3 separate regions of the Homo sapiens genome follow, and all the other regions are linked to region 2. The links are contacts of gene promoters, found by promoter capture Hi-C in blood cells and fetal thymus (Javierre and others, 2016). All regions are on one chromosome and are shown on one strand. The core of a region is centred on a gene start or on the middle of the fragment in contact, and the rest is flanking DNA. Distances in the headings are between cores, read along the strand shown.

Region 1 (3,606 bases), core at 70-2,569, 130 kb before region 2:
CTACGTGGGGCTGAGCTCACACTGCCTGCCTAGAAAGCAGCTCCAGAATGCAGTGGAGAGGGTGCCAGGATGTTTGTGTCCTCCCTGGGGACAGTGGGGTGGCTGCCTCTGCCGGTCTGATGACTGGGCTGAGAATATTAGCTAACGTTGATTGGACACTCATGGTGTCTTTCAAACAATTTTTACAGGATTCACAGGGCAGGCCATGAAGCCAGACTGCACGGTGCAAATTCCAGCTCCAGCACTTACTGGAGGGCAATGTTGGGCAAGATGCTTAACTGCTCCATGCCTCAGTTTCCTCATTTGTAAAATGGATGGAATAACGTGGTGTATCTGTGCCTTAAAGGGTGTTGTGAGAATTAAAGGAGTTAGTCCACATAAAGCTCTCAAAACAGGCTTTGCACATAGCTCATGCTCAGTAAACATGAGATATTATGACTTCAGTTAAGGCTCACAACCACCCAAGAGGTAGTTATTAATGCTGTCAACCCCATTTCATAGAGGGGGAAACTGAGACTCGGAGGAGTTAAGTGGTTTATTAAAAATCCAACCCTTGCTGGTCTCCGTTGATTGCACAGGGAAGTCACCAACCCAGGGGATCGATCAGATTCTGTCCCCCATCCTCCAGGAGTAGGGTCTCACACCATCAGTACACTGCAGGCACCAGACTCGGAAGACTGAGGCAAGGTCCTGGGTCTCCATGTTTACATCCATGCATTACTCGCAGAGCCAGGACTCAAGGCCAGGCCTGTGTGGTTTTAGGCCTGGAAATTCAACCCCTGCCCCAAACCACCAGGTGCTCCAAAAGGCCACAGAGATAGCCCTGGTGGCCAGAGATCAAGGAACCCTCCCCAGTGGATAGGCCACGTGGCCCTCTGCACACCCTACCGGACCCTGCTCTCCATTCTTGCCGACTCCCTCTGAGGCCACTTCTGAGATTTGTTCAAATCCGACACCCCCAAAGGTGGAAGTGGGGTGGGGAGAATGGAGGGTCCTGGGCTCCAAACTGTCTGTTGGAATGGCCCTGGGCCCTGGGGACCCTTGGCCTGGAAAGAGGGAGGCGCATGGCAAAGGGACCTGAGACTGTGGCTGCCAGGCCTGGCCTGTGGAGGGCCTTGTGTCCTTTCACCCCAAGCTCAGGCTTGTTGAGCACCCTGGCTGGAGGATTCAGCCCTCATCACCACCTAGCTCTCTTCTCCCGGGGGCAGCCCTCCCTCCACACCCCTCATAGACCTGCCTGGAGGGGGACTCACAGGGGCGGGTCGTGGAGATACTGCAAGTTCGCCGTCCTGCCGCCATGACAGCCTGGAGTTCGAGTTAATCCATAACCACAAATATTTGCTTGGCCCTCAGCACTGAGGCCTCCCTCTCCATAGACAAACAGTGGCACTAGCACTCCTGGTCCTAGCTCAGCACGGCTTGTTCTGCCCGAAGCCCACCTCTGCCCACCAAGGATGCCGTCCAGCAGGGAGGGAGGTGAGGGCAAAACCCTTGACAGATGTGGTCTCATTTTAGCCCCATAGTGGCTGGCTGAGGGAGGAACGTTGTCCCTGTTTTTCAGATGGGGACATTTTTGCCCAGAGATATTATAGTTTGCCCAAGATCAGCACAACAGGTAATATTCCATATTTCGTCAAATCTAAAATACCATTAATTATAAGACACATGTATTTATGTGCCACCATACAAGAAAAAAGACGCTGTCCCAATGACATGCCATCCCAATTTCTGATACATAAAATCATGAGAAGATGCTCCTTTTTGGGTCCCCAGTGCATAGGTGCTGGGCACTGGGCTCCACCCTCACCTCCAATTGCTCACAAATCACCCCCAATCCCCACCCCCAACACACACACACAATGGCACATAGCATCCCTCTAACCTCTATTTTTCAGGTAAGGACACTCAAGTTTTGTGTTACTCGCCCAGATTCACTGAGCTGGTAGTTGGCAGATTTAATTTGAACTCAGGTCTTGCTGCTTCCATTTGGCCCCTTTTGTGGACCAGTAAGAAAAATGAACGGGATTCCAGAAAGGCTGCAGCAATTTCCTGGCCGGGGTGCCAGAAGGGAGAAGGGCAGAAATAAAGGGTCCAGCTCAGCACCTTTGCCTGTGTCCTGCAGTCTATCAGCATTTATTAAGCGTCTTCCTGCTCCGAACCGGGCTGCACCAGAGATGCCCCCCTTTCCTCCCTGCCCTACCTGTTCCTGGGAAGACTTGCCCACGTTCCTTCTCCAAGTCTGCACCTCTAAACGGGGCATGTGACCCTGCCTCGCTGGCTTCCATTGATTGCACAGGGAAGTCACCAACCCAGGGGATTGATCAGAGGAGTAGGGTCTCACACTGTCAGTACACCATAAGTACCAGACTCGGAAGATTGAGGCCAGGTCCTGGGCATCCATGTTTACGCTTAAAGCAGAGGAAGCTGATGAGAAGGAAGATGCAGGTGTGCAGAGGGGGACTGAGGCCACGGACACCTAGAGAGTCCCAGGGAGCAGCGGAAGGAGGCCCCTGCCTCCTTATGATTGGTGGCACATCCTGGCTTCGGGTGCAGGAGGGTCCCCATGCCCTCCTAAAACCCTATTCCTCCTGAAGTTTCTTTAAATTGGCTGGAACAGCTTGTGTTGATTGTAACCAGATGCCTCCTGCTGAGGCACCACACCATGCTGGGCTGTGGTGGTACCAGGCCCTCCTAGAGGAACAGGGTAAAACTCTAACACTCTAACAAGTCAGGCCCACCTTGCCCAGGGGCAGGTACACATAGGAAATGCTTACAGAATTCAGAGGAGAGGGCAATCAGTACAAGCTGGCATAGCCAGGGGAGGCTGCCTGTAGGAGGTGACACTTCAGCTGGACATCAAAGAGCAGACAGGAGGAAAGACATCCCCCCCAACCCCACCCCAGGTTGGGAGACAGTGGGGAGACACAGAACACAAGCAGTCAGGAGGTGCTAGGAGGGGTGGAGGTGGAGAGGAGGTGGAGGGTGAGGCAATGGATTTTGAAATCGAGACTATGAGAAGTGGAGAACCAGGAGCTGTTTGTGACAGGCTGTGGCAGCTGCCTAGAAAAGCAGAGACAAGCTTCTGGGAACTCAGACAGGAAGCATGAAGACCCCATGCACAACCACAGAAGGCACCAGCTTGTATGTCCCTGTTTGCTTCAGGCGTCGCCCCCGCAAGTCTGCAGAGATCACTGCCCTCTGCTTTGCCTTCCAGGTGCAAGATGTTGTGGGTATTCTTTTGGCGCCGCTTCCCTTCCCCACCAACTTCTCGCCCTCTACTCCTCCCCACCCCAGCACAGGCAGCCGCTCCAGGGCAAGTCTATGCAGGCTCCACACACTGATTCTGACCTGCATAAATGGACTCTGCCCGGGGCACCCATGTCCAAACCAGCCCAGGTGCCCAAAGCACCGGCACCGGTACGAGCCAGGGCGGCTGCAATGCTCCCAAGTGCCCAGTGCTGGGGGTTGGGGGTGCCACGGCTTGGCAGGCTGCCCAGAGGGCGGAAGGGTCCTCTGCAGAGCTCTGCACGCCTGTCGGCCGACGGGGACTCTGCACGGCGGGCTGCGTCACGGCCGCCTCATCGGCTGGCAGCGCAGGAAACCCCG
Region 2 (3,593 bases), core at 1-2,500:
GGACACTGGGGGTATTATGGTGGCTAGAACAACACTTCTGACCTCATGGAGCTCACTCTTCTGGGGAAGAGACAGATGGTAAGCAGATGTGTACAACCTTGGGTGGTGCTAGAGTCAGCGAAGAAAAATTAGAGCACATGAGGGGTGAGATTGTAATGATGGCAAGGGGCTGTTGCACTTAGTGGGGTTAGGTTCTTGTTCTTGAATCAGCCTTAGGGGTTGTGTATTTGGAGACTCCCTAGCGCAGAAACTTTGGTGTTCCTGGATGACTAGGATGGTGTGCAGGTCCAGGGAAAGGCAGGAGTGGCCCCCTGGGCACCTGTTTGACCACTTATCCCAGTAGTGTCAGGTCCTAGCCTAGCTTCTTGGCCAGAGACCACAGCAGACTCACCTTGGGACCCCACTGAGGACTTACAGAGGCAAGGTCTTCAGGGAAGGGGAGGTTCTTTTTTTCCAAAACTCCAAGGGTTATTTTGATGTTGTTTTCCTTTTTTATTTCACTTTACAAATTTTTTTTATTTACGTTTATTCCTGGTAACTCACAGTGTATTTTTATAATAAAGGAAGGATCTCTGTTTAATGGAAAAGCTTGATTTTTCTCTTGATCTTCAAATGGTGGATGGTAGTAAACTCAGAAGCTCCTGGAATTTCATTTTCTCTGTACACACATAGCGCATCCCTGAATTCTCAGCCCCGTTTGCTGTGTAATAATAATAGTGGTCTTTTGCCGAGTGCCTCCTTCTGTGGGCCAGGCATGCTGGGACCCAGTAGCTTCACTGTCCCGTGGCTGTGGGCAAGGTAAAGTACTCCTCAGCTTTAGTTTTTCAATCTTTCTTTTTTCTTTTTGAGACAGAGTCTTGCTCCGTTGCCCATGCTGGAGTGTAGTGGCGCCATCTTGGCTCACCACAACCTCCGCCTACTGGGTTCAAGATATTCTCCTGCCTCAGCCTCCCAAGTGACCGGGATTATAGGCGCCCGCCACCATGCCCGGCTAATTTTTTGTATTTTTAGTAAAGATAGGGTTTCACCATGTTGGCCAGGCTGGTCTTGAACTCCTGACCTCATGTGATCTACCCACCTCGGCCTCCCAAAGTGCTGGGATTACAGGTATGAGCCACCGTGGCATGGTGGCTCAGCCAGGTTTTTCTATCTTTAAAATAACAATAACAGGCATTTCTCTTCTCACTGGTTTGTTTTGAGATTTTGACATTTAAATGAGATGTGTGTAAAGTGCTACAGTAGGCCCCAGCGCCTGCCATTTCTCACATATGTATGTGAAGTGGGCATGTCTCCTCATTATAAAGAAGAAAACAGGCTGGAGCAGTGTGTGTCGCTCAGATGTCAGCTATGTGGACTGTTACAAGACATTTTCCTAGATTGCTGTACTTGTGAGTCATTCTGCCTGTCCCTGTCCTTCATTTCAACCTGTCCTTGGGTGGGATTGCACTCTTGTTTCTTGTAGGTGCTGGAAAGTCCCTGGTTGGTGTGACTGCTGCATGCACTGTCAGAAAACGCTGTCTGGTGCTGGGCAACTCAGCTGTTTCTGTGGAGCAGTGGAAAGCCCAGTTCAAGATGTGGTCCACCATTGACGACAGCCAGATCTGCCGGTTCACCTCCGATGCCAAGGACAAGCCCATCGGCTGCTCCGTTGCCATTAGCACCTACTCCATGCTGGGCCACACCACCAAAAGGTCCTGGGAGGCCGAGCGAGTCATGGAGTGGCTCAAGACCCAGGAGTGGGGCCTCATGATCCTGGATGAAGTGCACACCATACCAGGTAAGCAGGCTGGAGCTGAGCTGTCCACTTGCTGAACAGACAAACCAATTTCCAGTTGTTAGGTTGGGAAAGGGACTGCTGTGTAGCCCACCCAACTGGCTAGAAAGACTTGCTGGCTTGCTGGGTAAAGCTTTTAATAGTTCTTTTTTTTTTTTTTGAGAGGGAGTCTCACTCTGTCACCCAAGCTGGAGTGCAGTGGCACGATCTCAGCTCACCACAACTTCCACCTCCCAGGTTCAAGCAGTTCTCTGCCTCAGCCTCTGAGTAGCTGGGATTACAGGCACCTGCCACCATGCTAGGCTAATTTTTGTATTTTTGTAGAGACAGGGTTTCCCCATCTTGGCCAGGCTGGTCTTGAACTCCTGACCTCGTGATCCACCCACCTCATCCTCCCAAAGTGCTGGGATTACAGGCGTGAGCCACCGTGCCCGGCCAGTAATTCTTAAGTGGGATGCAGGCAGGAGTGTTCACATTCACAGTTTGCTTAATCACTGGCTCAGTAGTGATTTAGAAAATGATATTTTCTTTCCTCCATCTTCCTTTTGCTGCTCAGCTTCATCCGTTTTTTAATGGCCCTCTAAAAACTGGGTTAGGAGCACTGAAAAGCCCTTCCCAAAATGGTGGTGATGTGTTTTATTTGAAGCCCGGAATATTGATCCTTAGTCAATATGTAATAGAAGCCCTACTTCTCCAAGTATCATGGGCAAACCTTTTTTTTTTAAGCTGCTCTATTGATTTAATTTATATACCATAAAATCACCCCTTGTAAATATATAATCCAATGAGTTTTAGTAAATTTGTGGACCAGTGCAACCATGACCATGATCCAAGTTTTCTTTTCTTTTTTTTTTTGAGATGGCATCTTGCTTTGTTGCCCAGGCTGGAGTGCAGTCGTGTGATCTTGGCCCACTGCAACCTCCGCCTCTAGGGTTCAACTGATTCCCCTGCCTCAGCCTCCCAAGTAGCTGGGACTACAGGTGTGTACTACCACACCCGGCTAATTTTTTTTTATTTGAGACAGTTTCGCTCTTGTTGCCCAGGCTGGAGTGCAGTGGTGCAATCTCAGCTCACTGGAAGCTCTGCCTCCCGGGTTCAAGTGATTCTCCTGCCTCAGCCTCCCGAGTAGCTAGGATTACAGGTGTGCGCCACCATGCCCAGCTAATTTTATATTTTTAGTAGAGACAGGGTTTCTCCGTGTTGGTCAGGCTGGTCTCAAACTCCTGACTTCAGGTGATCCGCCCACCTCAGCCTCACCCTGGGATTACAGGCGTAAAGTACCACACCTGGCCAAATTTTTGTATTTTTAGTAGAGAAAGGGTTTCGCCATGTTAGCCAGGCTGGTCTTGAAGTCCAGACTTTAAGTGATCTGCCTGCTTGGGCCTCCCAAAGTACTGGGATTATAGACGTGAGCCACTGCATTCGGCCACCATGATCCAGTTTTAGATTTCCTTTGTACTCATTTGCAGTCAATCTTTGTTTCTCTATCTAGCTTCAGATGACTACTGAACTGCTGTCACTATAGATTTGCTTTTTATGGAAAATTTATATAAACACAATCATACAATATATATTATGTCTGGCTTCTTTCACTTCCCATAATGATTCATCTGTGCCTTAGCATTTATCAGTAGTTTGTTCCTTTTATTGCTGTATAGTTTTTTGGGCGAATCTTTTTTGATAAAAACAGATTAAGGGATTAAGATTAACAAATTAGGAGTGGGCATGGTGGCTGACACCTGTAGTCTCCTAGCACTTTGGGAGGCCAGGGCAGGAGGATTGCTTGAGCCCAGGAGCTTAAGATTAGCCTGGGTAACAT
Region 3 (3,966 bases), core at 1,141-3,640, 180 kb after region 2:
GTCCAGTGAAGCAGAATCTCCCACTGTTCCCTGGGGGCTGACTGTAATGCAATTTGACTTTGCTCATTTCCTCCTTTCCTCAGAGGAGTGTTGGAAGAAATCACTTTTAGAGAATGGTTAGAAAAACGACCAACAGAAAATGAGGAGGAAGGAGATCATGAGCTGAAAGCATGTTGAGCTTTTAGGAGGAAGCTGCTTTAGAAGCCCAGACTGTGTAGGTTTTGCTTTTGTGACTCACAAATCGGGCATGAGTTTATAATAATTTTGACAGATGCTTTTCACTCATGCAGCGCTTGGTGCTTTTGAGGGCATTGGTGCAGGAAGGCTTGATGCAGAATCTCTGCTTATCATTTGCTGTCTGTGTGACCTACATCAGCGGCGCCTCAGTCTGTCTTCCTGCAGAATAAGAATACAGTCAGCCCTCTGCATCTGTGGGTTGGGCATCCATGGATCCAACCAACTGTGGACTGAAAATATTTGGAAAAATACAATAAAAAGTAAGACTACAACAATAAAATAATATAAATAAAAAACAAGGCCGGGCACGGTGGCTCACACCTATAATCCCAGCACTTTGGGAGGCCAAGGCGGGAGGATCACGAGGTCAGGAGATGGAGACCATCTTGGCCAACATGGTGAAACTCCGTCTCTACTAAAAATACAAAAATTAGCTGGGCATGGTGGCACGTGCCTGTAGTCCCAGCTGCTCGGGGGGCTGAGGCAGGAGAATCACTTGAACCCGGGAGGCAGAGGTTGCAGTGAGCCCAGATTGCGCCACTGCACCCCAGACTGGCGACAGAGTGAGACTCTGTCTAAAAATAAATAAATAAATAAATAAAAAATACAGCGTTAACAACTATTTACATAGTATTTAAATTGTATTAGCTATTACAAGAATCTAGAGATAATTTAAAGTATTTTGGAGGATTTGTGTACGCTATATGCAGATACTGTGTCAATTCATATGAGGGACTTGAGCATCCCTGGATTTTGGTATCCACGGATGTGCTGGAACCAGTCCCCTGGGGGATACCGAGGGACATCATGATAATAGGCCCGGAAGAGGACAGACGAACACACTGGGCCATGGGGCAGCACTGAGCGGTGGTGGAAGAACCCCGAGTAGCCGGAGAAAGAGCAGGAGGGCCTTCCAGGGAAGAGGGAATGGCCTGTGTGAACCCAGGCTGAACCTCTCATTCCTGGGACTCGATTTCTCCATTTGTACAAACTGCTTGGTTTGTGGTCTGCAAGAGCCCTTCCTGTTCCTCCAGGAAGCCTCTCAGGGACCTCTGTCCCTGGCCAGCTCTGCTCCTCTGACCGCTGCGGGTCCTGCAGGCCATAGCCCTGGCTCCTGTGTGTGCACCAGACACGTCTAGGCCTCTTCAGCGGGACCTATCTCTCTGCTCAACTCAATCAACAGTTCTTTAGAAATTTCCAGGGGCAGCAAAGTGCTGTAGCCCCTGACATGTTTTAGGGCTGAATGGGGGTGGGTATCAGCAGACTCAATACGTATTTATTAACTTAAAAGAAGTGTCATTGGTCTATTGGCAAAGCTGGTTAGCAATAACCTTATCTTCTCCAGGAATAATGATCACTAATCATTCCTTCCTGCTGGGGGTAGGAGACAACCCGGCGTATGGTGGTGGAGCACCTGGGAGACAGAGGCAGAGATCTCGTTCCTCGATCCCGGCGCGTTGGTTGTAAAGTAGGAACAGTAATAGCACCTACCTCTAGGGCCACGGAGACCGAATGAAATAATGCCTGTCAAGTCACTTAGTACACAGTAAGCACTCAGTAATGCTAGGTTGTTGTTATTATAATAAATTTTTAGCGAACGGGAAGACCAAGCACCGGTTGGTACTGGGCTAGGCGCCGTAGGCAAAGATGTGGAGATGTCCCGGAGGCGCCTAGGGTATCCGGGCGAAAACCCGAGGGCCGAAGGCTGGGAGGAGGCGGAGCGTCGGGCACCGGGCACCGGGCACCGGGCGGGAGGTGAGCCCCTGGAAAAGGAGGGGGCTCCGGGCGCGTTCTCCCAGCAGCCGCGGCTCCTCTGTTCAGGGCCGCGCCCCCTTCGCCGCACTTTCTCTTTGATTTCGAAAGCACTCCTCTCCTCCACCTAGTCTCCTTTCCTGGGTTGCAGGAGATTACTGCTTGCGGGGAAGACCAAGACGCCAGGCCGGCGGATTAGTCCCCGCCCCGGGGCGGTGCAGCTGGAGCGTCAGGGGAGTCCCGCTCGCCGCAGCCCCAGCGCCGCGCGCGCCCCTCCCTCCTCGCGGACCTGGCGGTGCCGGCGCCCGGAGTGGCCCTTTAAAAGGCAGCTTATTGTCCGGAGGGGGCGGGCGGGGGGCGCCGACCGCGGCCTGAGGCCCGGCCCCTCCCCTCTCCCTCCCTCTGTCCCCGCGTCGCTCGCTGGCTAGCTCGCTGGCTCGCTCGCCCGTCCGGCGCACGCTCCGCCTCCGTCAGTTGGCTCCGCTGTCGGGTGCGCGGCGTGGAGCGGCAGCCGGTCTGGACGCGCGGCCGGGGCTGGGGGCTGGGAGCGCGGCGCGCAAGATCTCCCCGCGCGAGAGCGGCCCCTGCCACCGGGCGAGGCCTGCGCCGCGATGGCAGAGATGGGCAGTAAAGGGGTGACGGCGGGAAAGATCGCCAGCAACGTGCAGAAGAAGCTCACCCGCGCGCAGGAGAAGGTGAGCGAGCCGGAGCCCCAGCAGCCGCGGAGTCCCAGCCGCCGCGGAGCCCCGGCCACCTGTCCCCCTATCCTCCGACCCCGGGGCCTGGTCCTTCGCCAGGATCTGGTGCTGTCACCTCTAGAGGAGCGCTTTCGAGGGGCTTCGAGGTCCCCAGGCTGCGTTCCCCGGCGCTCTGGGTGCCCTCTTAGGTTTGCGTCCTCTGTCTCCCCACACCCGGCCGGGGCAGGACAGGGCCCCGCTTTGCACCTTCGTGGCTCGGCTGCACAGCAGTGGCCGGCCCTGCTCCAGGCTCTTCTCAGGCGCGCGCTCCAGGCTACCCCGCTTTGGAGGCCAAGGGCCGGGAGGCTGGGAGGCCAGGTGGTGACCCTCAGCTCTCCAGGCCCATGCAGGCAACCTAGGCTGGGCCGGCGCTCGGGGCGAGAGGGAGTATGTCCCTCTGCCCCTGGGGACACTATTCCCCCGGACTCCCAAGGCTGCTTCTCGAACCGGCACCCACAGTTCCTTCCTTCCCACTGCTTCTCCACTTTCGTTCTCCGTGGGCCGAAGGAGGGATTGGGTTTCCTTTCCCGAGAGGTGCCTGCGGCCTGGAAGCTCCCGCCCAGCCCGGCCCCACCGGGAGCCCAGGGCTACGCACCCCGCAAGGAGGTGCCCTCGCCCCAGCAGGGGCTTAGCGTTTCCGGCGGCCGGGGAGCGGGTGGCGGCACTGGCTTTGGGAGCCCACGGCCGGGTGGGGAGCTGGCCTGGAGGAGGCGCGTGGAAGGCGCCACAGGAAACCCGACCCCTCCTCGCGGAGAGCTGGAATGGGGGATGGAGCCGGGGCCTCCCAGGGTGCCCAGAGCGTGCAGGAAATGCAGAGATTGAGGGGCGGGGGTCTGCACCCGGTCAGTTGTCTATCCCAAGCCACCTCTGGTTTATTGAATTGGATCACGCCAGCTGCTGACGCCACTTCCCCTGACGACTCCAACTCTGAAATCTGAGATTGCAGAATCTGTGTTTCTGCCAGGGTGGCCCCCCAGTGCCCCGCGGCCAGGCCTGCCCCCTCTCCCACCCGCTGCGCGGCCGCCGGGTGGAGGCGCAGGGACAGGCCGGCCTTCCCCTGCCAGGCCTGGTGGCTGTTTATAAACAATGACTTTTGCTTCTGAGACCCGCGGGCTCCCTAAGGATGCAACCACGTGATTGCTGGGGGATGGGGGAGAGGGGGGCGCCTAGAGCTTCCCCATACCTCCCTCAGAGTCCTACTGCTCATCCCTGTGTTTCCTGGCTAAGGAGGTGGGTGGGT

Evidence for each region. The method cuts DNA at HindIII sites, captures the fragments that hold promoters and counts their contacts. A CHiCAGO score of 5 or more calls a contact.
Region 1: a contact is called between the fragment with the promoter of PROC here and a fragment that was not itself captured in region 2, in 1 of 17 cell types (total B cells). The highest score is 5.4, in total B cells.
Region 3: the fragment with the promoter of BIN1 here is called in contact with a fragment that was not itself captured in region 2 in 2 of 17 cell types (M0 macrophages and M1 macrophages); the score reaches 5.9 in M0 macrophages.

What each region holds. Positions count from the first base shown.
Region 1 is chr2:127,416,140-127,419,745 of GRCh38, reverse strand. PROC (protein C, inactivator of coagulation factors Va and VIIIa) reads right to left here and starts at 1,319. Exons shown (of 9, transcript NM_000312.4): 1 at 1,254-1,319. RefSeq lists enhancers at 3,156-3,215, 3,596-3,606. The HindIII fragment of the contact is 16,432 bases long and covers 1-3,081 here.
Region 2 is chr2:127,284,887-127,288,479 of GRCh38, reverse strand. ERCC3 (ERCC excision repair 3, TFIIH core complex helicase subunit) reads left to right here. Exons shown (of 15, transcript NM_000122.2): 8 at 1,463-1,777. Among named protein-coding and RNA genes, the nearest start is that of ERCC3, 7.5 kb to the left of the region's middle. The HindIII fragment of the contact is 1,319 bases long and covers 591-1,909 here.
Region 3 is chr2:127,105,578-127,109,543 of GRCh38, reverse strand. BIN1 (bridging integrator 1) reads left to right here and starts at 2,390. Exons shown (of 19, transcript NM_139343.3): 1 at 2,390-2,684. The coding sequence starts at 2,601. LOC105373605 (a long non-coding RNA gene) reads right to left here and starts at 2,399. Exons shown (of 4, transcript XR_923311.4): 1 at 1,729-2,399. RefSeq lists silencers at 2,263-2,322, 2,157-2,451, 2,333-2,542. The HindIII fragment of the contact is 12,156 bases long and covers 1-3,966 here.